Regions from separate parts of the Homo sapiens genome. Here region 2 is linked to region 1. Evidence: promoter capture Hi-C in human tissues and cell types (Jung and others, 2019). All regions are on one chromosome and are shown on one strand. The core of a region is centred on a gene start or on the middle of the fragment in contact, and the rest is flanking DNA. Distances in the headings are between cores, read along the strand shown.

Evidence for each region. Contacts are between HindIII fragments. The study calls those that stand out against the background at their distance.
Region 2: the fragment with the promoter of TRIM14 here is called in contact with the fragment with the promoter of GABBR2 in region 1 in 3 of the 25 tissues and cell types used here (IMR-90 fibroblasts, adrenal gland and mesendoderm cells).

The regions. Positions count from the first base shown.
Region 1 is chr9:98,703,214-98,710,596 of GRCh38, reverse strand. GABBR2 (gamma-aminobutyric acid type B receptor subunit 2) reads left to right here and starts at 1,662. Exons shown (of 19, transcript NM_005458.8): 1 at 1,662-2,180. The coding sequence starts at 1,860. RefSeq lists enhancers at 276-570, 2,323-2,893, 3,465-4,036. The HindIII fragment of the contact is 12,748 bases long and covers 1-7,383 here.
Region 2 is chr9:98,117,929-98,124,619 of GRCh38, reverse strand. It overlaps TRIM14 (tripartite motif containing 14), which reads left to right and starts at 5,398. Exons shown (of 6, transcript NM_014788.4): 1 at 5,398-5,638. The coding sequence starts at 5,432. It overlaps CORO2A (coronin 2A), which reads left to right. Exons shown (of 12, transcript NM_052820.4): 12 at 1-3,645. RefSeq lists a silencer at 5,465-5,564 and an enhancer at 5,875-5,924. The HindIII fragment of the contact is 7,744 bases long and covers 614-6,691 here.

The sequences.
Region 1 (7,383 bases), core at 413-2,912:
GGTTTCCCTGGCGCTGTCCAAGGTACTCTCTAGTAGTTCTGCTCAGCCTCCACTCACATCTTTGTGCTTCCTAACAACTCAGCCTGGATTCAGAGCTGCCCTTGCCTCACTCCAGTAGAGCTGGTGTGTGGCCATCATCATCATCATCCGGTCCAAATCCCTCACCATATGCCGGAGGGAATCGATGTCCAGAGCAACTGAGTCAGGGCAGTGCTCCTCCTGGAGAGGAAACTTGCAGTCCCACATCCCTGGCTCCCACTGCACTGTGCACGGAGTTCCTGCTGGCTCTGGGTTCCGGTCCTTCAGTAGCTCTGTGTGCTTCCACTAGCTACAGAACCTCTCTGAGCACCAGTGTATTCGCCTGTAAAGTAAGGGTGAGTAACACAGTATGCTTACAGGGCAGTTGTGGGGATTACATCATAAGGCACACAGTAAGTACTCAGCGAAGGTCAAACTTCCATTCTTGTTACAAGGTCGTCGATATCTTCCACAGTCCCTGGTTCAGGCTCAAGTATGTTTTGTGATTTGATGTCCTACTGTGTTCCTCGCATTAATCAGCCCCTGGGACTTTATAGATTAATGATCACGTTTCCTATTCTTGAAGTATGCAGAGGCACAAGGAACCCAAGGTCTTAGGTCAGCTCACTCGGGTACATCTGGCTCGGGACTGCTTTGGCTAAGATTGGCCAGTGCGACCTGGCAGAGAGAGGGCCAAGTCCAGGGGCGCGCGGCCCCGCCCTGGCCTGAGGATAGTGCTCCCACCCCGGGAGACTTCTAGGGCGGGGCCCATCAAGAATGGGGACGCGGGGAGGTCAAATGCCTGGAGGGGGCGGTAGCGCACGTAAGGTTGGGACCCCAGCTTTGCTTGGGGTTGGCAAAGGGCGGTCGCTCCGTCTGGTGGGGAGGAAAGGGGTGTCCTCAGCCAAGGCCCTAAAGGCCGGGCAGCCTGGCACCAACGGGCGTTCGAGCACCCGTGGGCGTCTTCAGCGACCCCCGGGACTCGGTCAGGGGCTCGTGGGCGCCAGAAAAGAACGGGAGAGCGTAGGCTGCAGATGCCTCTGGGACGCCTTCGTGGAACATTCTCCTGCCCAGACCTTCCCGGCCAGACCTCCGAGAAGCGGTTCCAAACCACCGTGCAGGTGCTACAGGCAGCGCTCGGCGGAGCGGCGGCGGCCACTGCGTGTGCCAGCGCGCGGTCCCGGTTCCCAGATCGCTGTCCCCGGGCGCTCTGGTGCCTGGAGGTCAGCGGTCGGCGGGCAGCGGCAGCTGGCGCAGCGGAGGGCCGGGGGCGCGTGTGTGCGTGTGCTGGGAAGGTGGCCCTCCCCGCGGCCGCCGCAGCGCCAGCGCCTCCCCCTCCCCCGGCGCGCACGGCTCGTCCCCGTCCCTGGAGGCGGCCCGAGCCGCCCCTGAGCAGCCTCGCCTTCGCCTCCCGCGTTTCCTGCCGTCCGCCCTCCCCCGGCCGAGCTCCAGGGGCTGCCGCCTAGCAGCTCCCGGCGGGAGAGCGGTTCAGAGCGCGCACGGGGGCGGGCGGAGGCGGCCCGGTGCGGGGCGGCCGCGCTGGAGAGAGGCGCGCGCGGAGACGCCGGCCCCCCTCTCCGCGTTTGCTCGCTTGCTCCCCGCCTCCCGCACTCCGCTCGCTCCCACCCCTTCCCGGCGTGATTGATCCGTCACGGGCGCCGCCGCTGCCGCCGCCGCCGCCGCGGCCGTTCTGAGCCGAGCCGGAACCCTAGCCCGAGACGGAGCCGGGGCCCGGGCCGGCGCCATTGCGCGGGCGCCGCGGGAAGACCTTGGCGCGGGGCGGCGGGCCGGGCCAGGCCATGCGGGCCGAGTGAGCCGGCGCCCGCAGCCCGCGGCGCGGCATGGCTTCCCCGCGGAGCTCCGGGCAGCCCGGGCCGCCGCCGCCGCCGCCACCGCCGCCCGCGCGCCTGCTACTGCTACTGCTGCTGCCGCTGCTGCTGCCTCTGGCGCCCGGGGCCTGGGGCTGGGCGCGGGGCGCCCCCCGGCCGCCGCCCAGCAGCCCGCCGCTCTCCATCATGGGCCTCATGCCGCTCACCAAGGAGGTGGCCAAGGGCAGCATCGGGCGCGGTGTGCTCCCCGCCGTGGAACTGGCCATCGAGCAGATCCGCAACGAGTCACTCCTGCGCCCCTACTTCCTCGACCTGCGGCTCTATGACACGGAGGTGAGTGTCCGGCTGCCCCTGCCGTCGGGGCTTCGGGGGGCATTGGGGTGGGTGGTTTGGACACAGGCAACCTCCGGCCTTTGGTCAGATCCCCGATTGACCGGCCCGCGCCTGCCGAGGGCAGAGAGGGCTGGTGCCCAGTGTTCACCCCCGCGGTCCTGCTGGGCTTGGCTGGCACAGCTGGTAACATTTGCCAAGCACCCCCTCCTCTGGTCTTATGTGTGTATGTGTGTGTGGGGAGGGGTGGGGGTGGGATAGAAGACTGGGGTCTCTTTTGACCAGAGAAAAAGGAGTGGAGAAGGTGGGGGCTGGACCCCCAAAGGCCTACATTGATTGTCCCTGTCCAGGTCCCGCTCATGGGGCTGCGAGGTACCGAGTGGGAGGAACAGGCGCATTGACTGCAAACTGGGCCACCCAGGGCCGGAGGGGCCGCGGGCCTGCTCACAGGCCCCCAGGGAAGCCGAGCCGCGCTTTGAGGTCCGGAAGGCTCCGGAACCCAAGGGGCTTGAGCGTGCAGCGTGGCTGGGCGCCTGGTGCGCGCCAGCAGCTCTGAGCCCGCTCCGCGCGGGCAAGTGTGGGGCCACCGGCTCTGCAGCGCTTCTGCCTGGACGTGCCCGGCGCTGCCTGTGGCCAGAGCGATTTCAGGAGACCCCTGCCTCGGGTTAGTTGCTCAGAAAGTGCCCTGGCAGTTCTCGTCCCGGACGTGCAGTGGTGTCCGGCCGCGCCGCTGCTGTTGGCCGGGCGGCTGCAGGCAGTTTCTCACGGCTCAGGCTTGAAGCATCCGACCTAGCAGCCGGAGCACAGACTTGGAGAGCAGTCCGGAGCGGAGCCAGAGAGCCAAGGGCTTTCCATCCCAAGACCCCTCCCCACGCCCTCGGTTTGGGTTCTGCCTGAAGCCCCAGAGCGGACCTTCACCGCCAGGCCGGGGCTGGAGCGCGCGGAGCGGGTCTGGAGGAGCGATCGCTGGCCGCGCAAGGTCGGGTTTGCGAGTTTTTCCGGACCGAGCGAGCCCCTGTGCTCCGACCGCAGCGTCTGAGACGCGGCCTGAAGGGGGCAGTGATTTCCTGTGCAGTACGCTCGGTTGGCGCCTCTTCCATCGCGCGGAACGGGGCCGAGGCGCTGGGCTTGATCCTGGCTTCCTGGGACTCTCCGGGCGCTTCTGCTGGAGTCCAGGTGCAGAACCCTTTTGGGAGGAGGGTCGCGCTACTGCTCTGGTGGTGCAATCTGGGCTTCCCCTCCTCCTTGGTCGGACCCTCTTTATGTCCCCAGAGAAAGAGCAGAATCTAGATTGTATCTTATTCCCTGCCTCCCCCGCTTCACCGGTGAACCAGCTTGCTCTGCGCTGTAAATAAAAGGTGAAGGAACCGGTGGCAGTTGGCAGCGGTACGCGCAGGCTGCTGCAGGCGGAGAGGCGTCCTCTGCCCCAGAGGATGCAAGCTGGCTGGCTGTGCAGGGCTAACCCGGTGTGAAATCATTTCCGAATGACATTCCTATCGCCCTCGTCTTTGCCTGAGCATCTCAAGTTCTGTGGGGGTACTTGTCTGGCACACATAAATGGAGACAGCAATGCAGTTACACGGAGGCATATCTTCTTGACAGTTTCTCTGTTGCTACTGCACATATTCTTCTGGAGGGGTCACTGCAAAGCCGGTCTTTTGGGGACAAACACATTTTTAGATAGGGCAGCCCTGCTTGCATCATCACCAAGTATTGTCAGCTGCATAATGTTTTCATCATCAGTTTCTTCCCTTTAGAAAGCTTCCCTGAAAGAGATTTCATACTGGCCTGTTTGTGGCAGCAAAGAGATGGGTGCTTCGTTTCAGGGTGTGGGTTGAAGCCTTTACATTTTATTTTTCGAGTGTGTCTTGATGACTTTCTGAGTGAAAGGACCCAAAGTCAAGAGGATGAGACAGTCAGAAGACTCTTCAATTCGTGGGAATATTTAGAAAACAGTGGGAAGGAAGACAGAAGATAATTTTAGCTTCGTGCAAACAGAGAAGTGTCTCTAGCCTTTTGAAGGGGCCCAGAGCCAGGGCTTTGGGGTAGGTGGGGCCTGGGTTTTAGTGAGAAACTGGTTACTTTCCACCCTGGATGACCTTGAGCTGGGTATTTAATCTCTCTAAGCCTAGGTGGGAATATTATGTGTACTCTGCAGGTGACACACAGCTTAAGGAAGATAACAGGCCAGGGTAGAAGATGCCCTGAGCTGGCAGGCTCAGCGGCCAGTGCTCTGGCATGCTGTAAGCACTAAATAAATGTGTCCTGCTGCCTCCCCTCCTCCTCCTCCTTCTTTTTTTTTTTTTTTTTGTTTTTTTTGTTTTGTTTTGTTTTTGTTTTTTTGAGATAGAGTTTTGCTCTTGTTGCCCAGGCTGGAGTGCATTGGCGTGATCTTGGCTCACCGCAACCTCCACCTCCCAGGGTCAAGTGATTCTCCTGCCTCAGCCTCCCGTGTAGCTGGGATTACAGGCATGTGCCACCATGCCCAGCTAATTTTGTATTTTTAGTAGAGATGGGGTTTCTCCATGTTGGTCGGGCTGGTCTTGAACTCCCGACCTCAGGTGATCTGCCCACCTCTGCCTCCCAAAGTGCTGGGATTACAGGCATGAGCCACCGTGCCCAGCTCCCTTCCTTCATTTTTATTTCCTGTGAATTCACAAGTGGCCTTATCTTTAAAGTAGAGGTGCTTTCTCCCTGAGCCAGAGTGAAGGAAGGATCAGTCTAGGTAATTTGCAGCAAAATCTAGAGCGATCTAAAGAATGTTTGTGGCTAGTGTTAGAGTGTTTAGGGTCTAGTTTATTCAGATTGGCTGTCTTTGTGGACACTGCCTAATTATTTGCAGGCTGTGTCACATTGTTTGTAGACTTTAACACAGGGTGGATGTGGTGAACAGATTTTGGCTGGATTTGCTGACATTTGCTGTCAATCAGTGGCCTCAATGGCCAGTGACTATGGGCACCAGTATGGACCTTTATCCATATGATCTGCAGAGAGATGGAGATTTAGCAAGGAATGGGTTAATCTGGTCCCTGGGGACAATCTGTCTCAATAAAGGAGCCTCCTACAACCAGATTGACTCTCTTCTGTAAGTAGAATAGTGGTAGATTTTCAAAACCTCACTCAATGCCATGTGTTGGTAAAAATGAAACAGCCTAACAGAATACCTGTCTATCAGAACCTCTGCTTCTCTGGTGTAACACCAAATGGCTTCAGCAAATACTCGTTTATATATTCCAATGAGGATTTGAACAAGCAAGACAACTGAAAATACAGATAAAAGAAAGCATCAGAAACTATGTAGAAGCATAGAAGTTACTATACCAAGAACCTGGGCTAAAATTTATTGCATTGAGTATTATATTTTAGCTCTGAGCTTCCTGGCAGTCAAGGTAAAAAGGTAAATGTACCATATTACTTAATGTTTGATCTAAAAAATCTGAGAGACAATGACTTTTTTTTTTTTTTTTGAAAGAGTTGGGGGTCTCATTCTCTTGCTCAAGCCAGACTGCAGTGGTACATCATAGCTCACTGCAGCCTTGAACTCCTGGGCTCAAGTGATCTTCCTGTCTTCAGAAATGTTCTCCATGTGATTGTTTCTTATTCTAGCCACACTAATAAAATAAAATAATAGCCAAGGAATGAGTTAAAGATATTTTTTTTCAATTTGATTAATGTTCATTGTGGAAAAGCTGAAAATTACAGAGAAGCATAAAGAAAAATAATTGCCCATAATCCATCTACACAAAAATAATAACATCTAATAATTAGCATCATTCCCTTCCAGTTGTCATTTTTTACTATTTTATGTACTTGAGATCATACTCCATGTGCTCTTTTATGTTTTTTTCCTTCAGTTAACATTGTATCATGGGTTTTTCCCCATGTCCTCAAATCCTCCTTGTAAAGATGATTTTTGGTGGCTGTATACTATTCTATCCTGTGGGTGAACCATACGTATTTAATCATTCCCCTATTGTTGGACCTATATGTTTTCTCATGTGTTACTATCTTAAATCATTCAATAATAAACTTAGAGAAAGTTCAGGGAGCCAAGGAGCCCAGTCTAGGGGTACAACTGTCAGAAAGACCACCCTGATGCCAAGATCCAATGTAGAAATCCCAGTGATTGTTGAGCATGTCTTTTTTCTTGAGTGGCTTTGCCAAATATCTTTTCCCTTATTCACTATGCTTTAAAAAGGATTTAAAGGACTGTTGAATTGAGGCTGTGCTTCCTAAAAAGGTCTGAGTACAGCTCAGCAGGTGTTTACTGAGCACCTACTGGAGCTGTTGATGCTGCAGAAAGGTGTAAAACATAGCCCCGGGTTTGAGAGAGGCAGCTGGTGAACAGAGAACAGGGCAAGAACGTATTCATCATTTCTAATGCAAGGTAGAGAATGATAGTGGAGATGGTTGCATAATTCTGTGAATGTACTAAAAACCATGGAATTATACACTTTATATATATATATATAAATCACTCTTTTAAAGTGTATAAGTTAATTAAATCTCAGTACAGATTTAACTGTATTAAATCTCAATACAGTTAACTAAATCTCAATACAATAAAATATAAATTTTTAATTTTATTAAAAAATAAATTTATTTTTATTTAAAAATAAAAAGATAGACTGAGTGTGGTGGCTCATGCCTGTAATCTCAGCATTTTGGGGGTGCTGAGGTGAGAGGATTGCTTGAGGCCAAGGAGTTCAAGACCAGCCTGAGCAACATAGGGAGACCCTGTCTCTACATAAAATAAAAAATTAGCCTGACATGGTGGTATGTGCCTGTGGTCCCAGCCACTAGGGAGGTTGAGGCAGGAGGATTGCTAGAGCCTAGGAGGTAAAGGCTACAGTAAGCTGTGATTGTGCTGCTGCACTCTAGCCTGGGCAACAGAGCAAGACTCTGTCTCAAAAATAAAACGAAATAAAATTTAAAAATTTTAAAAAGAACGTGAGCTCTTTCAGGTTCAGGTTTACATCTTCTTTGCAGCTGCACCCCCACTGCCCAGCATGCTGCCTGGCCCTTAGTAAGTGTGTTGTTTAGTACTCTTGATGCAAATGACAGAAAGCCAACTTTAACAGGTTCATATAACTGAAAAAACCTAAGGTGTGCTGTATGCAGGCATGGTCAAATCCAGGGGCTCAAATGATATCTTTAAAAATATCTTCCTCTCTGCCTCTTGGCTTTGATTTCTTCTGTGTTGGCT
Region 2 (6,691 bases), core at 4,149-6,648, 590 kb after region 1:
CATGGTGCCGTTTTTCTGTTTGCCTTCTTGCAACAACAGTTTCTGAATTGACTTTGTTTTCAGATGATGCCTTCTGTTGAATTCTGTTATTAAGGGCCCATGATGAGCTGTAACTTCTCAAGAGGAAAGAACACAGTAGAAAACTAGAGCTGGAAGGATCTAGGTTGACCTGTCTGTGATTTTCAAACTGTGGTCCAGAGAATAGGGGAAGACTGGGCCAGACGCAGTGGCTCATGCCTGTAATCCCAGCACTCTGGGAGGCTGAGGTGGGCGGATTGCTTGAGGTCGGGAGTTTGAAACCAGTCTCACCAGGCGCAGTGGCTCACGCCTGTAATTCCAGCATGTTGGGAGGCCGAGGCTGGTGGATCACGAGGTCAGCAGTTCGAGACCAGCCTGACCAACATGGTGAAACCCCATCTCTACTAAAAATACAAAAAAATTAGCTGGGCGTGGTGGCAGGCGCCTGTAATTCCAGCGACTTGGGAGGCTGAGGCAGGAGAATTGCTTGAAACCGGAAGGCGGGGGTTGCAGTGAGCTGAGATTGTGCCACTGCACTCTAACCTGGGCAATAAGAGCAAAAGTCTGTCTCAAAAAAAAAAAAAAAAGAAAGAAACCAGCCTGGCCAACATGGTGAAACCCCGTCTCTACTAAAAATACAAAAATTAGGCAGGGCGTGGTGGTTCACGCCTATAATCCCAGAACTTTGGGAGGCCAAGCTGGGCGGATCTTCTGAGGTCAGGAGTTCAAGACCAGCCTGGCCAACATGGTGAAACCCCGTCTCCACTAAAAATAAAAAATTAACCAGGCATGGTGGTGCATGCCTGTAATCCCAGCTATTTGGGAGGCTGAGGCAGGAGAATCGCTTGAGCCTGGGAGGCGGAGGTTGCAGTGAACCAAGATCATGCCACTTCACTCCAGCCTGGGTGACAGAGTGAGACTCCGTCTCAAAAAAAAAAAGTTGGCCAGCCGTGGTGGTGAGCGTCTGTAGTCCCTGCTATTCGGGAGGCTGAGATAGGAGAATTGCTTGAACCTGGGAGGTGGAGGTTGCTATGAGCCACGATTGCGGACTGCACTGCAGCCTGGGTGACAGAGCGAGACTCCATCTCCAAAAAAAAAAAAAAAAAGAGAGAGAGAATAGGGGAAGACTAAGCAGGAAGGCTGTGTCTCCCTTCCCCACACTGTATTCCAACCAGACAGCTCCCTTCTATTTTATATGTTGGGCTAGTATGAAAAACAATTCTGCTAGGAAAAAAAAATTTTTTTAGAAGTTTGAAAGCTAGTGATTTGACCCAAGTTCCTCATTTTACAGCTGGGGAAACTAAGGCCTAGAGAGAGGCAAGTGATATTTGTTTCATGGCAGGGCTGGGCTGAGATCCTGCTTTTCTGGGTCTGTCTTTTTGCTCTTTTGGGTCTGATGCAGTTCTCAGCCCAAAGAGTAGAAATCTGTTGCTTCTGGCCTCAGCTGTGCCCCAGCTTACTCAGTGACCTCTTGCAAGTCCTGCCCTCTCTGGTCTCAGTTTCTTCATCTGAACCAGGGGTACCCTGGAACAAGCTGCTCTCTGCAGGATCTGCCACCTGAAACCTTGACCTAAGAGAAAACTACCTGTGGGGTGATCTGGGTTTGCTACAGAAACTAACGGACACTGGCAAGGGGTCAGAGGCATTCAACCCAATTCTACAACACAGGCAGGTGGTCAAAACCAACCTTTCCAACCAGAATCAGCCTGATATGGATAGATGCTGTCCCTTATGGAGGGACGCAGACTTCAGAACTGTGCCCATGACTGCTGACTGCCACCACCAAGGCCCTCAGGTACACAGCCTGCCTCCTGCAGGATGATGTGGGCAGATTTCAGCCCTAGTTAACAGAAGAGTCCCCCAGGAGGTAGGGGGCCCCCATCACTGGAGACATGCCAGCAGAGCCTCTGGCCACCTAACCAGGAGGTCTTCTGAAATGACTATACGAGGTAAAGAAGTAGTACCAGATGGTCCCAAAGTTCCCTTTTAGCCTGAAAGCTTTTCTTTGTCCCTCCTTAGTGAATCTGTGTTCCGAGCCCTACTCTAAAGTTCAGTGGTCAATACAATAGTCCACCAAGAGACTGGGAATGATTAGAAGTGAAATTGGTCCCTCCTTACCAAGGAGGGGCAGATGATCTCCATTGCACAGGGCGATTAGATTCTGGAGCTGAGGTGGGGACTGCAGGAGGCCACCTAGTCTGGTAGGTTTCAACCCAAGCTGTGTACATTAGAATTCCCTTGGGAGCGTGCAGGAAATACAGATGCCCATGCCACATTCCAGACCAACTGAAGCTGAATCTCCAGAGTAGGGCCTGTATGGTCATATAAGCTCCACAGGTGATCTGCAGTACAGTGAAGATGGAAGACTGCATGTGTACCTATTTGCAATAAAGATGAAGAGGACAGCAAGCTCCAGACAGGAGCTGGGACTCAACCCAGATCTCTTAAGTCCTGCCTGGTGGCTCCTTAAAAGTCCAGAAGTGTTGCCCCAAGCCCTCCCTCAACATCTCTGGGAACCGCAGCTGCAGCACGATGGGGGTTCAGTGCCCCTGTTTGCCCCTTACCCAGCTGTGGTTTATTCTGCTTGTATGTCTGCACAGGCCGGATGCTCGTGTTCCTTGTCTTATTCTCCATTTACTCAGTCACTGGGGCTCACTCCCGTCTGATGCACTAGCCAAGATTGCCTTAGTGTGCTCCAGAAAAGAAGGCCAAATCCCAGGCATTGTCAGGGCAGCAGAGCTCTACAGGATAGGCTTACCTTTCCCACCTGTGTGGCTAGCACTTCACAGTTTACAAATTCCTCCCACCTCCACTCAGTGACACATGCTGTTCTAACACAGGTCAGGCAGGCATTACAGTCCCCATGTTCAGAATCAAAGACCTAGCCTCAGAGAAGTGAAGAAACATCATGCCAAGGTCATTGACTGCCAAGCGGTAGAGGTGGGGTTGCATCCAGAGAGCTTCCCGGTATGCCTCTGCACAATGCCATTCCTTGGCCAGCTCCCTCCACCCCAAGGGACCCAGACTGCACACTTAACAAACAGGACACAGGTGTCTTTGAACAAACTTTTTTGTATTATTATTTTTACATCTAGAATAAATTATTTAAATTATTTCACAGCAAGGGAGAGGGATAGGTAATTTTTATCAGATATTTTTTTAAACCATCTGTTTTTTAAATTACATTTTTGTTTATGTTCTTGAGCTGATGTAGTGGAACTTGCCTAGCACATTCAGGTCCCAGCCAGTTGGCAGAGCATGCTCTCATCTCCTTATTCCATACCCTGGGCGTCCCCTTTCTGTTGACTCAGGAACTTTCTGAGAATGAGGACAGCACTAGGAGATGAGCTTTGGCAGGTATCCACCTTAACGCTACAATAATTGTGCTTCCTGAAACAAAACTTGAGATTGTATCATAGAAGGAAACAGGAAGTCAGAAATCAAATCTATGCTTTTAATTGAAACCGTGCCTGAAACAGTTTGAATGATTGTTTTAATGTTGTTTCTGAAATTCCTTGTACCTTTGTGAAAAATAATGATAATAAATAAAAGTGAAAATAAATAGATGTGGAATATGCAATGGAAATAATGTAACAAAATAATAAACATCTGGCCATTTTACTACAAGGAGCTTTCCTTTTCTTGATTTGTTCCACAAATACCAATTAACTATCTACTCTTGGAGTCAGACACCAAGCTGGAAAACAGGCAGAACAGACAGTCTTTGCCCTCTCCAGTTTTCAGTCATGGCTGCGGGAATGGGGAGGGCCAGGATAGGGAAAGCATAGGCTGTTCTGGAAGGAGAAGGAGGGAAGGCTTCCTGGAGGAAAAGATAGTAAGGTAGAAACCTGCAGAGTAAGTTGGAATACTCAGGGCAAAGGGCATTTGGGAAGAAGAATGTTCCAAGCAGGGTAAACTGCACGTCCCCCAGTCTTGAAAAAGCACAGGGTGGAGCATAGGCAGGGCGGAGACCAAGGATCTTAAGAAAGAGCTGAGGGCTTTATAAGTGGAAGTCTAGACTTGAGCCTGGGGGGGCAACTGGAATTTGGGGTGGTGGTGTGTGTGTGAAAGTTGTCAGTACCAAAACAGAGTCACTTACATCAAAACCAAACTAAATGGTGCTCCTGTAGTCCCAGCTACTCCAGAGATGAGGTGGGAAGATCACTTGAGCCCAGGAGTTAGAGGCTGCAGTGAGCTATGATCGCACTATTGCACTCCAGCCTGGGCAACAGAGCGAGATCCTGTCTCAAACAAACTAAATGGTGCTGGGAGGCCATGAAGTGGGGGGCCCTCATCAACGATTTGCCTGGTAACAGGAACTATTATTGCAAAAGATTCCACCAAACTGCAACCTTGCACAAAGAACCACAACCTTGCACAAAAGCCATGATATGAGGACATCTGCCCAGCAACTGCCTGTTCAACTTTTGGACTGAAGCCACCTGTATTAATTCTTGTAACCAAGTATTATTATTTTAAAACGATCTGGCCGGGCGCGGTGGATCACGCCTGTAATCCCAGCACTTTGGGAGGCCGAGGCGGGCAGATCACGGGGTCAGGAGATCGAGACCATCCTGGCTAAAACAGTGAAACCCCTTTTCTACTAAAAATACAAAAAATTAGCCGGGCGTGGTGGCGGGCGCCTGTAGTTCCAGCTACTCGGGAGGCTGAAGCAGGAGAATGGCGTGAACCCGGGAGGCGGAGCTTGCAGTGAGCAGAGATGGCGCCACTGCACTCCAGCCTGGGCGACAGACCGAGACTCCGTCTCCAAAAAAAAAAAAAAAAAAAAAAAACAAAAACAAACAAACAAACAAAAAAAACAGTATATGCAATCCTCCTCGTTTTGCCTTTAAAAGCCTCTGCTTTCCTTTGCCTCCCTGAGTACTCCGCGTCCCCACCCCTTGGGTGCCATGGCACATTTATTCCCGAATTGCAATCCTTCTGCTCAGTCCGAAATAAACTCAATTGGAGAATCTCTGTGTCCTTATTTGAGGTTGATGAAGGTATCTTACAGTTGTGGGAATGATTATCTTTCCGGGGAAAAGGGCAAGAGAGGATCAAGGGAAAGTGAGAGGAGCACCCCCGGAAGGTCACAGCCAACTTTGGTCCCATCATCAGGGCTGCAGTTTTCTGGGCGTTACTGGAACAGCGTCATTAAGCAGGAAGCCCACCCTCTCCTAGCTGGCTCATTAGGAGCTTCCCATTTCTGGTGGGACCACCTCCCGGCCTGGGCGGGCAGAGGGAGCACCCTGCTGGTCGGAGGATGCTCCGAGGCCCGACGCTGCTCCCGGCGGGCTGTCATCCTCCTAGGGGTCGGCCGGCCGGCCTGGAGCCGCCCCGCCCACGGCCGAGGTTTCGGTTTCCCTTGGGAGCCCCGCCCTGTGTCCCGGGGAGCCGGAGGAGGTGGAGATGAATGGCGGGCGCGGCGACCGGGAGCCGGACCCCTGGGAGGTCGGAGCTTGTCGAGGGATGCGGCTGGCGCTGCCCGGAGCATGGCGACCGCGTGGCTGAGCTCTTCTGTCGCCGCTGCCGCCGCTGCGTGTGCGCGCTTTGCCCGGTGCTGGGCGCGCACCGTGGCCACCCTGTGGGCCTGGCGCTGGAGGCAGCGGTGCACGTGCAGGTGGGGACGATGGGGACGGGGTTCGCCGCGCGGGAGTTGGGGGAGCCAGCCCAGGCATAACGGCCGAGGAGGGGGCGTGCCTGGCCGTGGCCAGTGGCGGGTTACAACCTGGAAACCAAAGGTGCCCCAGAGGGCGTCTAAGCGGTCGACCGAAAGTTCAGAGCGGGAGCCTGAGACCCAAGGAAGGGCAAAGGCGAGCCAAAGCCATCAGTTGAGCTTCAGAAAAGGTGGGTTTAGGAGTGAGAGGTTGGGAGCCCAGGCTGGTACCCAGATGTCCTTGACCGTGTCCACCATGGCCGATCCGCCACACTGCCATTGGGCTGGAAGACAGTCTGCCTTTTAGTTAACAGAGGTACAAACTCTCCCTCTTAATAAACAGCCCTGTGTAGCTCAGAAAGCCACACAGACATCTCAGGTTTACTTAATCTGCAGTCCACAGAAAGGGCCTGTGAACTTTGAGCTGAGGACGGCCTGACTGCCCTGGGAGCAGCCTCAGCTGTCACTACCTACCTCCTCTCCCCTCCCCGGCCACACAGACACTCCCATTCCTGCTCATAGCAGCCCTGGGTGAGCCATTATTATTACAGCCATTTTATAGGCCACAAGAGGAAGGCTCTGGAGGCAGGGGCAGGCCTTGAACCCAGGACTCCATTAGCCAGATGCCCCCAACAGGGCCATTGTCACCGTGGAACCCTTACCCATGCATAATCCTAACAGTGCCCCAGGGGCTCTGGGCTCCTGCTCCAGCTTCCCAGCTGACTTTTTCTGTGGCTTCTCTCAAATCCTTCTCTCTCTCTGGGTTTCATGAAGCCTGGGTGAGGTAGGCCCTCATGTCTGACAGCTGTTGATCCTACCACTTGTCTCCAAGAAGTCTTCTGTGATGAATTCAGCCCCATCGTGAGCCTTTCTCCGGTACTGCATGACTCCAGACCACCACACTGTGACAACCTTGGAACTCCAAGGTGAAAAGGGGATCATGGGGGACAATCCAGTGGAGTCGTGGGCTCAAGACCTGTCCCTGCCACCAGACCCTTCCTTTTTTTAACGTATGAA